Regions from separate parts of the Homo sapiens genome. Here regions 1, 2, 4 and 5 are each linked to region 3. Evidence: promoter capture Hi-C in 16 types of primary human blood cells and fetal thymus (Javierre and others, 2016). All regions are on one chromosome and are shown on one strand. The core of a region is centred on a gene start or on the middle of the fragment in contact, and the rest is flanking DNA. Distances in the headings are between cores, read along the strand shown. Region 1 has its middle 280 kb from the start of NR5A2. Region 2 has its middle 310 kb from the start of NR5A2. Region 3 holds the start of NR5A2 (nuclear receptor subfamily 5 group A member 2). Region 4 has its middle 360 kb from the start of NR5A2. Region 5 has its middle 330 kb from the start of NR5A2.

Region 1 (2,700 bases), core at 174-2,673, 280 kb before region 3:
TATTCATGAAGTGGTTAAAAGGATAGCAATAGCAATAGCTAACACTTGTATGATATTACTGTGGACCAGGAGGTTGTTCAAGCATTTCATGTATATTACTTCATGCACTCCCAGACCCTGCCAACAACTCTATTAGGTATATACTTTTATCGTCCCCATTTTCTGGATAAGGAGATGAGCCTCCAATAGCTTAAGGGGCTTGCCCATGTTCACACAAGTAGTTAAGTACCAAAGCTGGGATTCAAACCCAGGAATGCTGGCTGTAGAATCCGTGGTCTTTCCCACTATCCTATGTTGCTTTTCAAATTTGGCATAACCTTTAAATGTAGCAATTTGTCTTTAGAAGCTAAAGAATCATGAAGATGGTATTTTTGGTCCCATTGACTTGTCCACAATGCTATTTTTATCAAAATTAAAATTATATAGTGCATTGGCAAATATTTACTAAGCATTAATGAAAAGTCATATTGCTAATGTTTTCTCTAAAATATATGTTAAGTACTGTATAAAATGTATGTAAGGTGAGTTAACCCATACAACCAATGTATGAGCTAAAGTAAATTAAGTGATGTTTTATTCATTTTTGGGGTCAATATGCACTGCTGTATATTTTACCAAAATTATTAGGGGAATGGAAAAGAAAATAGAAAAGCAAATTTATCTTTATACTAATGTAACATTATGTTTTCCTCTTTCCTGTAATCAAATCTAAGGTTATGTATGAAGCATTCACCATACTTTATAATCAATGTCTTTATTGATCCTCAAAACTATTGTAATATATAGCTTATAGGAAATTTACATCACAGAAGGCTATAAACACTGCAGCCCAGGTTTCTGGGAAGGTGAATGGTCATCTGGAATAAGTAATGTTGCTTGCCTCCGTGTTACTGTCACAATAATAGTAATAAAAACTAATAATAATATCAATAAATGTGTTTTTATTACTATTTGTCAGGCATTATGCAGATATTATTTCATTTCATCCTGATAACCACCTTACCTGGTAGGTGCTGTTATTATCCCCATTTTTTATATAAAGGATTTTATTCAAAATCAAACAGATAATAAATGGCAAAGGCAGATTTGGGGGTTTTGTCTGTTTGTTGTTGTTGTTTTGGGATGGGGGTCTCACTCTCGTCACCCAGGCTGGAGTGCAGTGGCACTATCGGCTCACTTCAGCCTCCATCTCCCTGGGCTCAGGAGATCCTCCCACTTCAGCCTCCCAAGTAGCTGGGACTACAGACGCACACCACCAAGCCTGGCTAATTTTTGTATTTTTTGTAGAGATGGGGTTACTCCATGTTGCCCAAGCTGGTCTCAAACTCCTGAGTTCAAGCAATCTGCCCTCCTTGGCCTCCCAGAGTGCTGGGATTACAAGCATGAGCCATCGCACTCGCAGAGGTGGATTCTAAATGAGGAAATTCGACTGGGAAGTAGAGAGATTCACCCCTAAAGTCTACTGGGTAGTACATGATGTGAACTTTGACACTGACTGAACTGTGTTAGAATTGTGGCTCTACTTCCTATTAGCCGGTAACCTCAGACAAATCTCTGAGTCTCCATTTCCTAATTTATAAAATGAAGATCATATTACAGTGTTGTTATAAGGATTAAATTTAAAAGCAGAGTCTATGACACCTATGATAGTAAACAAAACTATCTACCCTTTATTGAATGCTTATTGTATCTAGACTTTATGCTAAGTATTTTATAAATGTTATTTATTTAATCTTCCAATAACTCCATCAGACAGGTTTTATTACTCCCAGTTTATAAGAAACAGATTTAGAGAATCTATGCAATCAGTCCAAGTGACACAGACAGTGAGACATAGAGTGGAAAAGTGAATCCTGATCCACACATTGCTCATGATCCACATTGCTCACATGGCACTGGGTCAGTCCACCAGGTAATACGGAGTTCATGCTCTTTCACAAGACTGCAGAAACTGATACTGGGAACCAGTATCACTGATGTAAATCACTAGTCAAAACTGAGATTTGCCTGAGTTCAATATACTTTGTAGTTCACATAAATATTTCAGTATAAATATGACTATCTCCTCTCTGTCCACTGTTGGAGGGTCTCTCATGTTTCTGCACATCTTGCAAGCAGAGCCACTACAATCTTTTCAGAACAGTGAATAGGTCAGTCAGGCAAGAAGCAAGCAGGAATTGTACAGGGAGTTCTCCTGGAGGGGCCACAAGAGAGAAGGGTTAGCCAGGTCATCCTTAATCAGAAAGGCGATCAGCACCACGAAAGCCCCAGCGGCCATTGGGCCCTACAGTCAAGCTGTGTTAGTCAGGACAAACTTACATTTCAGGACAGATAAGCATGAACCCTTTAAGTGGACAGCTTGTGCCAAGAGGGCTTGTTTAGCAAAAGAAGCTAAGCAAGAACATGAGTAAAATTCTGAAAGCTGCAGGCTGTGACTTCACTAATGCAGTAAAAACAACTGTTTTGTTGGCTGACATAAATGACTTCCCTACTGTCAATGAAATCTACAAACAGTACTTCAAGAGTAGTTTTCCTGCAAGTGCTGCTTACCTGGTTGCTGCTTTGCCCAAAGGAGGCCAAGCTGAAATTGAGGAAGTAACTGACCAAGCACCTCTCACAACGGCATGACTATAAGTGGCCCGGTGTTATTTAGTCTGAAATTTTTCACATCTTGACTTTTACAATTGATATAACATCTTA
Region 2 (2,700 bases), core at 171-2,670, 300 kb before region 3:
TGTGCTATTTTGACACAACCAATGCTACAAATTTCTATTCTGTGACAGAGTGCACTAGCTAATGGTCAATCTTAGAAAAATAAAGCATCAAGGAGAGTCTTCTAAGTGAAACCTTAGCAAAGGTTAATTATCTTTACAGTCATCTGTCCTATCATGATTTAAATGTGCTGGGTAGAGCTGGGGAAGATTACGTTTTGAGAAAATAAAGTAAAAGACTCAAAGGTGCATTTTGAAAGATGGCAAAATGCTAAGGGTGTTACAAAATGCTTCATGATTCTCACCTAGGTGTGGATATTGAGTAAGGTCAAGAGCTGTAAAACCTTTGCACACAGCTTTGTCTGTACTCAGATGAAGATAGTTACAACAGCTCCAAGCAAATCATAAAATAAGGGAATCGGTCTTTGATGGCCTTGTCTTATTCCTGCTCCACGCTTCCCAGAATGGTACCTTCTCCTCTCACTGCAGAAGAGCTGTGCCTCTCTGTTCCCAGAGCCTTGCCCCTATCAAAACTAGGACAAATCTGATACCTGTATTTACTTTCCCACACGTATCCCTTTATACTAAGATGTTAAACTCTTCTAGATGTGTTAAGACTTTTAATTCTGTGAAATAAAAAGCTTTGCTTTCTTTTAAAACGGTGCCAGTATTTAGAGAGGAAAAACAAACCATAGTTCTGCTGAGAAATCAAGCATTCCTTTCTGACTTCAGAAAGCAAAGTAGACAAGCATTGCTTCTTTTAGGGAACTAGAGGAGCAAAATCATAAAGAGAGGCTCCCTAAATCCTTTTATGAAGCAAATCTTAACCCCTCCCTTTCCCCGTTATTCCCCAGTTTGCTTCTTCATGCTAACTCGCCGCTCCAGGGGCCATCCGGACAAGGGTCTTGCTTCTCCTACAGCAGAGTCTGCATTGTAACTCTCAGCTTCACCTTCATATTTTATCACGCAGCTTTCCTTCTCTTTCGAATGCCCTAGAGCTCAATGAATCCGTAGATCAAGGTAGGGAAAAAAGAAAGAGAAAACCTGGGATCTGCTCAAAAACTTCTCATTTGTGGGCAGAGGCTCCTAGGAGAAGATTTGTAAGATGGAGACAGACAAGTTCACACCTCAGATCATAAAAAGGTATTTGAGGTCAAAGTAGCCCCTGTTGTGGAAGAGTAATATAAAAATTTTACCCAAAAAAGTACACACAAAATATACCTGAGTGGCAGTCATGGTGGAAGTGAGGATGAAATAGAACAGGTTATTTGGAAAATGTTGTTGGATTATGAAGAAAAATCTACATAGTGACAATGTGACTGTGTAAAATTTTCACAATTTCGTTTTTTTATTTTGAAAAAATTGTAGAAATTATCTAATTCAGCTTCCCACACAAAGTGGGGTGGGGAATCTTATATTCTAATTAAAAACATTTACTTCAGAACTTGGGTAATGTTACATCATATAAAGAACAACAAGAGGTGGTTTGTTGGAGGAGAGGAGGTGTAAGCCTTTTAGCAGCTGTGCATTCTCAGGCAAAAATTTATCTTCTCTGGGACTCCAAGAAAATGAGAGCTATTTGAACCCAGTTAGCCTCTAAGATTCTGTGGTGATTCCCACCACATAGTGTTTAATTTACACTAATTTATAAGTTATTACAATGGCATTTATAAATTTCATTAAGTATATGTTAAACAATGTACATTTTAGTTCTATATAAAAACACCTTCATGGTTTAAAGTTCATTACTTTGAGTATCATTGTATACTTATACTGCAAAATCCACAATCAAAACAAAAATAATCTATATTGTAATGCTGTCTTATTGACACATTAATGACGTTGTGTCCATGACAATAAATGATTACGTTCACATTTCCGAGAGACTCTTGGAGACCCCCTCTGTGAGTTTGTGAATTTTCACCCAGCATTGTGATACCACCGATGAGGAGTCTCTCCTATTCTGTCTCCCCTCTGCCCTTTATCAAAGGGGCCACAGATCAACCAAAAAGAAAAAAAAGAAAAAAGCCACACTTAGCTACAGAATGTCTCCTTTATTGAATATGTATCCTTTGTTGAACAATGAAAAGCAGCAAGTTGCTCAGACAGATAAACAGGAAGAGAGAATAAAAAATCTACATGTGTATGATATCGGACTTCTATTTTCACAGGATACTGACTGTAATTCACTCACAAAATAGCCTCTCCAATTCTAACTGAGCAAGTCTAGTTAAACATGACAATTTTAAAGCTTTTTAAGGAGCTAATTAATTCATTTGTTGATTAAATACAAATAAGGTCCACTTTTATTTTCTTAGCCTCCGGCCTGGGCTCTCAGAAGGCTGTTAAGCCTGCATAATAACTTCATCTGAATTTAATTTTTTCAGGCTACTTTGAAACGGTTACATAACTAATTCATATTAGTCATCTCAGAGAAATCTCAGACCAAGTTTTCATGTGTAAAGAGGCAGCCCTGCTAATCCTGCTTTCCTCTGGATCATAGCCTATGTGAAGGAGTTGAGAATTCTGCCACTATAGGTTGATGCTTGACCTTTGGGATTTTTCTGTGGATCTGCTACTGGTAAGTTAATATAAATTAGTGCACAACCAAAGTCTCAGAAATTTGAGTGCATTTATAAATTTGAAATTAAATTTAGTCTATAGAGAAAAATGAAGCTGATTTTGACTCACGTCTCATTTGGAAATGGCCTAATACCCTAGCAA
Region 3 (2,700 bases), core at 159-2,658:
TGCGGTGGCTCACGCCTATAATTCCAGCACTTTGGGAGGCCGGGTAGATCATTTGAGGTCACAAGTTTGAGACCAGCCTGGCCAACACGGTGAAACCCCGTCTTGACTAAAAATGCAAAAATTAGCCGGGCATGGTGGTGTGCCCCTGTAATCCCAGCTACTGGGGAGGCTGAGGCGGGAGAATTGCTTGAACCCGGGAGACAGAAGCTGCAGTGAGCCGAGATCGTGCCACTGCACTCCAGCCTGGGCAACAGAGCGAGAACCCATCTCAAAAAAAAAAAATTGTTATTTTGTTGTTATTGTTGTTTTTGAAGACAGAGTCTCACTCTGTTGCCCAGGCTGGAGTGCGGTGGCATGATCTTGGATTGTGTTCTTCCAGGGTTGCAGAGAGAAGTGCAACAGCGTCTCATTGCAACCTCTGCCTCCCAGGTTCAAGCAATTCTCCCGCCTCAGCCTCCCAAGTAGCTGGGATTACAGGAGTGCACCATCACACCCAGCTAATTTTTGCATTTTTAGTAGAGATGGAGGTTTCACCATGTTGGCCAGGCTGGTCTCGAACTCCTGACCTCAGGTGATCCGCCTGCCTTGGCTTCCCAAAGTGCTGGGATTACAGGTGTGAGCCACCATGCCCAGCCTAAGAATAATAACTTTATAACTATGAAAAATGTGTTACATATTCACCATTTTGCCAGCATTAATCTCAAAGCATAAGTTTTACCTTTTGGGGATAAAGAGATAGATTGTGTTTTAGCCATATGACCAATGTAGAAACAAGCTAAGGTTAACTCCTCATCTAATGAATAGGCCCGATAAAAAAGTTGGTTGACCACAACATGAATAAATAAATAACCATAAGCTTGGAAATGCTACCTGTAGTATTTCAGAGTGTCGATCACATTTGTAGTCATCACTTAAAGAATTAATGTCTGCCAATGTTATCATCTAAAATGTATTTACAGAGGTCAGAAGAGCTATGTCTGTCCTCCTCTATGCAAAGAGGTGATGACATCAAGGGGTATGTCACAAGCCAAAGTTTAGTTAGCCTAAGTTAGTTAGCTGGTTTGCAGTTTTTATCCACTAAGTCTGATCTTCTGACCCCTCAGTTTTACAACTTTCCACTCTCTGTGCTGCATAGCACCTCTCCACTTCTGAGTTAATCATTTCTTTGCCATTATCTGGCAAGAATTCTTATCTCTTTTGCTGTCACTTTATAACAGGGTCCTCTTATCAACCTGCATAGAGTCATGTGATGAGTCAAAGCCTATCAAAAGTTTCCATTCTTCTGATTAGAAACCATCATGAAACTGGATACATGGTTTACAGCAGGTCACTAATGTTGGAAAAAGTACAGAGTCCAGGGAAAGACTTGCTTGTAACTTTATGAATTCTGGATTTTTTTTTTTCCTTTGCTTTTTCTTAACTTTCACTAAGGGTTACTGTAGTCTGATGTGTCCTTCCCAAGGCCACGAAATTTGACAAGCTGCACTTTTCTTTTGCTCAATGATTTCTGCTTTAAGCCAAAGAACTGCCTATAATTTCACTAAGAATGTCTTCTAATTCAGATACTGGGGATTTACAAGAGTCTTTAAAGCACGGACTTACACCTATTGGTAAGTAGGAGTTTCTCTATTGATCATCTATTTATTCTGCTACTACATACATATAATTTAATCTTGTTGATGGATTTTGCATTTTAAGTCATGGCTTTTCCTATTATGTTTATTAAAAGCACACAATAAGCCTATGTATATATATCACACATTTATCTTTCTTGCAGTTCAAAAAAAGCAAATGGATATTTCAACATATGAATATTATTCATTATATCTAGTGTTTACTGGTGTCATTCTAATACCCTAATCAGCCAGAAAATATAATTTATACTTTATCAATTTCAACTTTAATATTTTCTGATAATTTTTAATCAGAAATAATAAGCTAAAATTTGAACAATTTGAAACAAGTTAATCATATTGAGTGATCATTGATCAAACTTTAACAGATAGCTGTCAAGTATTTGTTACTTTTCAACCCACACAAAAGTATGGTGTCTTATTCTCTGCTTATACCGTAAAAAATTTTCATTTTATTTTCCTGGGGAATGAAAGTCATGCCCCCACCTCCAAAAAAAAAAAAAAAAAACCAAAAAAACTAGACCATCATTAGTAAAGGATTTGAAGAGCTACTGTTTCTCGCAACAATTAGTATATTTTGTTTTTACAAACAGAAATAAGTAAATAAAGCTACTATTCATTTAAAAAATAGAGTTACAAACTTATGAATTTTATAGCAAGACTACATTCAATTAATTCTAAAAGTAAAGGACTGAAGGGAAGTGATTCCCAGTGATCTGTAATTATTTGTCTGTTGGAAGTCAGGCCCTTCTGCCTTTCCCCAGTTTTTGAAGGACCTGTGCCTTTTCTGGCAGCATTTGCCTAGGCTTTCAGACTGGAATTTCCCTCCGAATTTGCAGGGGCCTGTCATGAGCTCTCTGAGTCTCAGCTCCATTATAACAAGAAAGAAAATCAAGGCTTGAGTTTTTCCTCTTTTTTCCTTCCTAGTCAGCTGACTCCACAGAATGCAGTGGAGTCACAGATTGCTTTTTTTATGGGCCAACTACACCCTAAAGTATATCACTTGAGGAAATGTTTACCAAAAATGTTCTATACTTACGAAAAAGAAAACATGGGGAAGGTAAGC
Region 4 (2,700 bases), core at 191-2,690, 360 kb before region 3:
ATTTTCTATCTACCACACCTTCCTCAGACTGCATCTTTCCAAAATAATCTTTATAGAACATCCATAGGGGAAAAAAAAACTCTTCCCTTCCTATACACGTTTGTAGCTACACTTTAAGACATTTCAGCTCTTTTCTCATTTTCTTGGAATGAATCAACAAATATGTATATCATATGTGCTATATTATATTTCATAGTTTTCTACAAGTGCAGAGGTACCAGTTTTGTTTGGATTTTATACTCCAATGCCCTTCCAGGTGATAATATTTTACTGAATTTTTTAAAGCAATAACAACGTATGGGTCAAAGACAATGAATATTTAATATAGAGGCACAGGAGGAGATGAAGCATAAATTATGTATTTTATCCTAAAGGGGAATTTTGAAATAATTTTCTAACATGAATGCTCCACCTACTAGTATTCAAGAGCCTATTCTTGTGATCTTCACGAAAGGACATTTGCAGGATGCACACCGGGAATCTTATTTCTATGTTGTCTCATTAAATCTCATTTGATCTACACTTTCACCCTGTGGAAGATATGTTATATCATTTCCATTTTTAAAAGTTTGAAGAGATTTGCTGTTCACATCTCCTGATCCGAAGTTAAGCTTCTCCTGGGTAAAGCAGAGATGGAGTTGTAGACAAAAATTGTGTGTGTGTGTATGTTTCTGTGAGTTTTCTTAATGTTTCTTAACTGATTTTAGTGAGCCTCTTTAGCAAACCTGGACATCAAACATGTATTTCTTTATAAACCCTTTAAGTGAAGTATAAAAATCCATCCAGAAAAGTTATTAATCCTAAGTGAACAGCTTAATGAAAAGCATTTAACATGTTCATGTGACATGTGCAGATCAAGAAACAGAACATCAACAGCATCCCAGAAAATCCCTCTCTAGTCCCCCACAATCTCTACCCCATCTATCCTCTCCACCAAACAAATATCTTTCATATCAACTTCTGTTCTGTTTTGACATTATTTAAAGCTATGCATCAACACCATATCCTTCTGCCCAGTGCTATCATCTCAACTAAAATGTCTTTATAGCTTTATGCCTTTTGTGACACAGCATATTAAAATTATTAATAGTAACTTGTCCTCCAGTAAGAAAATTCTGGTTACATTACTTACTAGTTTTGTCACTATGAACAAGTTACTTAACCCCTCTAAGGCTCAGTGGTTTCCTCAGTCATAAAATTTAGACAATACTGGTATCTATCTTTGTGAGATTATCATGGGGAAAAATGATAAAATATACGTAAACTTGCTAACACTCTGCTCGTTATCTAGTAAGAAAACAATACATAATATTTATCATTATAATTTCAGTATTTACTAGTGTGGCATGATTATAGGCAGTCAATAAATATTTGAGTCCCTATCCTGGGCTCTGGGTAACTCAGCTTGTATAAACTACATAAATCTCTACCTATACATAACCCAATTCCCTCTCTAATTTTAAATACAATCAAGATAATCCTAAATCTAAAACAACTGTTAGTAACTCTTCATTATTTCTAAAATCAAATTCACAATATATGCATATTTGTGTGTATAACTCTCCTAAAATGAAATACTTTCCACCTGGTTTCTCCTCAAAATCTATCTGTTAAGACCCATTCCAAATACTGCCTCCCATAGTACATCTTTACTTAATCTGATTCCAGGTAATCTCTGAAGGGCCAGGTTCTGTTACTTTCCTGAAGCCCTTCCATTGTCTCTCTTGGACAAGAGAAATACATGAGTGACCACACTGCACTTTCTATAGGACAGTCTCCCTGAGCACAGGAACTGTTGTCTAGATCACTTACAGCCAGCCCAGCATTATATTTTACATATAATAACAATAATATACTAAAAATCATGCTATCAGACAAGTATGTAGAAATTTATACTTTAATTCTTTTATCAACCTTCAAAACATGAGAGCTGCATAATATAATTATTCTCAGTTTGCAATTGTTTAATTTGACAAACACAGATATACCACTTACTACGCCCCAGCAGGACTGGCATGCTTTGCATAGTATAACTCACTTAATCCTACTGGGTGATATAGGCATTATCATTGTCCTCATTTTACAGATAAGGAGAATAAGACAAAATAGTTGAACAAGTAGCCCAAAGTCACCCAGATAGTAAAACAAATAAGTGAGGCTCATCCTCAGGCAGGCCACCTAACTACCATGCCACCATGTACTGCAGCCTGCATCATGACGGGCCACCAATAAGTAGGTGAAGAAATTGATTGAAGATAGACTTACAATTAAAGCTTTGGTCTATAATTAAATCAGTGTGTAAAAAATGGATTTTCTAACTATGGGGGTGGGGGAGATTGATGTTCCTCTTATGCCTCAATCTCTTCATCACCTGCTTCCTTTTCAGCTAAGCACAGTGTACTAGAGAGCTTAGCTCATCCATAGGGCTTGTTGCAGGCACAACAAGGAATCACTGTGGGTTTTCATGTCCTAGAAGTAGATGTAGCTAAAAAGCATTAATATGTTTTTGCAAAAAAAGATTAACAAATTCTTGTTTTCAAAAATCAAAGAACTTAAATTATAGTAGGATAATCTACTTTCATAATCAGTATTAACTTTTTAGATCAGTATTAACTTGTTCAATGACCAGGCATTTCTTATGTGGATTTGCTTTTCTTATCTTCAATGCATGTTTATTAAATATCTGCTCTGTGCATTGCA
Region 5 (2,700 bases), core at 91-2,590, 330 kb before region 3:
TTATAATTTCTTTATTTTGATAATTTTTCTAAGTTTATATGAAAGGTTAAAATCAGACGAATCTGGGCAAAAGTTATGCAGAAACTTTCTGTACTATTTTTTACAAACCTGTAAGACTACAATTATTTTAAATTATTATGTTTTTATTAAAAAATTTAAATATATTCTGAAGCTGTACTTAGTTTTACTTTAATGTTCACTAGACTTCAGTACCAACACAATTGGCATATTGATATATATATAATTGTTCTGAGGAAAGCTTGTTTGATTTGGTGATTTTCTGTATTTTTACTAAGAAATGGAAGTATTTCCATTTCAAGTAAATTGGTACAAGAGCCAAATTCAGTGAGAATGATAATAATTTTCCCCCAGAAACCAACAGAGCCTCAGAAGAGTAGACAAAAGTTTGGGAAGTCTTTTGAGAGTTTCCTAAAATCAGACTTTTATAATGGCACAAATGCTTTCGATAAGGATTCTTTGTATCCTTTCTCAAAGGACTTTTTGCTTATTAACTTAGGGAAGTGAGGGCAAGCATTTTTTTTGGAGAAGTCACAGTACATTTACAACACAGCTTTCAACATCATTGGTAGGAATTTGTAATCTTGAAAAATGCATGGAAGTCTCAATGCACTTTATAAAGGTCTTTGGGAGACAATATAATGGAATTCTTAACACAGTCCAATCAGAGTCTATCTCTTACTTATGGGCATGTACGTGTACTGTGGCAAATATTTTGGTATCCTGGGTATCTTTAGTTCAATCCCCAGAATATTAAACAATTCCCAGGCTTCGATTTTCTGTAAATGTTCAAGATCATCTAATAGCAATGATGTGAACTGCTCTGACAGACAGGTAATAAAAATTATGCTAATGAATTTGTAGTATAAAATCTCTCTAGGTGGTCTTTATTCTTGTTGAATCTTTAATTCATTTTCCTAAATATTTAAACAAGTCACTTTTATAACTCTACAGACCCTACTAAGAAATTGGCATCTCTGACCTGATCTGCAGATATTCTTGAGCTTCTTTCTCTTTATTGGGTTGGCCTGTTATATTGTGTTATGCAGAAATGACCAGTATTTCTATTAACAGCTACTCCTTTAATTATTCTCCCAAGTATTGATGAAGGTCACTAGTGAAATCTTTCTCTGGCCTTCAAAGTGTTATATTTGGTTCTGTGTAGAAAGATTGTTGAAGAGTATCAATTTCAAGTTCACATTATAATGATCTGGCCAAGTAGTATTTTTTTAAATCTCCAAAATTAGAAATGCCTATCTCTTACATTACAAGCAGCCACATTCTCAAAAGGCTCTTAAGATCAACAATGAGACATGAGCAAGGAGAGGTAAGGCTGGTGATACATATCATTTCAATTATATCAGAACTGTTTTAATGCCTTAGCTTTAAGGACCCCCCAATCAGCAAGCACCACAACGTGAGTCTTTTTGGTGACTCCTATTTTATCTCCTTTGCCTAGAAAGGATATCTACACATGAATTTAGAAAACAGGATAGGCCTCAATCACTTCAGCTACACGCAAACCAAATTCTTTTACTCACAGAGTCTCAAAAGTTTCTGAGTGGAGATTTTATGCAACTGTTGATTTAAAATGCACTAAAGAATTTATACTTTCATTTTCTGGAGCGTTCTTTTTAATCAAGATCTTATGCTTGATACTAGAATACCTACTGGGATAGAAAAAAAGTAGATTGAAAAGCAAACATTGAATCACTATACTTTTTTACATAAAATACATATCAAGATTAATTACAACTTAAAAACTTAATCTGCAACTGCAGCAACTCAGAGAAATAGGACACTAATAGCATCACTGATTCCAGCATAGACAGCATAACAATAATTCTAGAGAAAATCGAGTGCCGTAGAAGGCAATCCTCATTAGCTGTTTGTCATGGCAGGTTACATCCCATGCTGTCAGGTCTCCTTGAATACTCACTTACAACTGAAACCCAGAAGTTGCCCAGCAAAAGGGAGAACATATTCAGCTTTGTAAAGGTAACTTCCATTTGCAAACAATAAACCCTAATCATATAATATTTAGCAGGATTTTACTATAAATTCAATTCTAATTATATTCAATGCAAGATTCAATTTTGTTTCATATTCTATGTTGTTTGTTTTTCACTTAAATTAGAGCCTCTGTTCCCAGGGGTGTTATATCTTCAGTAATCTCATACCTCAAAATGGCTACCTCTGACCATCTCAGCTTCAGCAAATCTCTTGAACTCTTTCTTGAATGATCGATCTTCAGCAAATGCATAACACCTGCTAAGAAGACCTTTTTCTTCTAATATTTAAATCCAAATATTCAATTTATTTAAAAGAGAACTTTATATGTGCCTAATTATTTACCTTCAAATTATCAAAGAGAAAAAATGGTAAAGGTTATTTACTCATCAGGAAAGCTTTTGAGTCACCAATACATTTTCAGAAAACTTTTAATGATGTTTAATACAGGAAAATGCTTTTTTTCTGAAACTTCAAAACCCGGTTCACATGAAACTACCCTATGATTAAAATAATCTCTAAACTTGTAAGCAAGAATCTATTTAACCCACAAGTCTATTTCTTTTCTCCCTATTTTCTAATCAAATTCTAAAATGTTGTGGAAAGATACAGTGAAAATATCTACTGCTTTGCGAGCAGTCTCGTTCAATAACATGCAGACCTACAATACCC

The links. The method cuts DNA at HindIII sites, captures the fragments that hold promoters and counts their contacts. A CHiCAGO score of 5 or more calls a contact.
Region 1: a contact is called between a fragment that was not itself captured here and the fragment with the promoter of NR5A2 in region 3, in 1 of 17 cell types (M1 macrophages). The highest score is 5.2, in M1 macrophages.
Region 2: a fragment that was not itself captured here is called in contact with the fragment with the promoter of NR5A2 in region 3 in 1 of 17 cell types (endothelial precursors); the score reaches 5.2 in endothelial precursors.
Region 4: a fragment that was not itself captured here is called in contact with the fragment with the promoter of NR5A2 in region 3 in 1 of 17 cell types (M1 macrophages); the score reaches 5.1 in M1 macrophages.
Region 5: a contact is called between a fragment that was not itself captured here and the fragment with the promoter of NR5A2 in region 3, in 9 of 17 cell types (monocytes, M2 macrophages, M0 macrophages and 6 more). The highest score is 10.0, in monocytes.

The regions. Positions count from the first base shown.
Region 1 is chr1:199,750,263-199,752,962 of GRCh38, forward strand. It overlaps the pseudogene RIDAP1. Among named protein-coding and RNA genes, the nearest start is that of NR5A2, 280 kb to the right of the region's middle. The HindIII fragment of the contact is 3,745 bases long and covers 1-2,700 here.
Region 2 is chr1:199,721,345-199,724,044 of GRCh38, forward strand. No RefSeq gene overlaps it. Among named protein-coding and RNA genes, the nearest start is that of NR5A2, 310 kb to the right of the region's middle. The HindIII fragment of the contact is 1,610 bases long and covers 616-2,225 here.
Region 3 is chr1:200,026,302-200,029,001 of GRCh38, forward strand. It overlaps NR5A2 (nuclear receptor subfamily 5 group A member 2), which reads left to right and starts at 1,409. Exons shown (of 8, transcript NM_205860.3): 1 at 1,409-1,610. The coding sequence starts at 1,547. The HindIII fragment of the contact is 3,447 bases long and covers 855-2,700 here.
Region 4 is chr1:199,662,102-199,664,801 of GRCh38, forward strand. No RefSeq gene overlaps it. Among named protein-coding and RNA genes, the nearest start is that of NR5A2, 360 kb to the right of the region's middle. The HindIII fragment of the contact is 1,662 bases long and covers 610-2,271 here.
Region 5 is chr1:199,701,357-199,704,056 of GRCh38, forward strand. No RefSeq gene overlaps it. Among named protein-coding and RNA genes, the nearest start is that of NR5A2, 330 kb to the right of the region's middle. The HindIII fragment of the contact is 2,167 bases long and covers 258-2,424 here.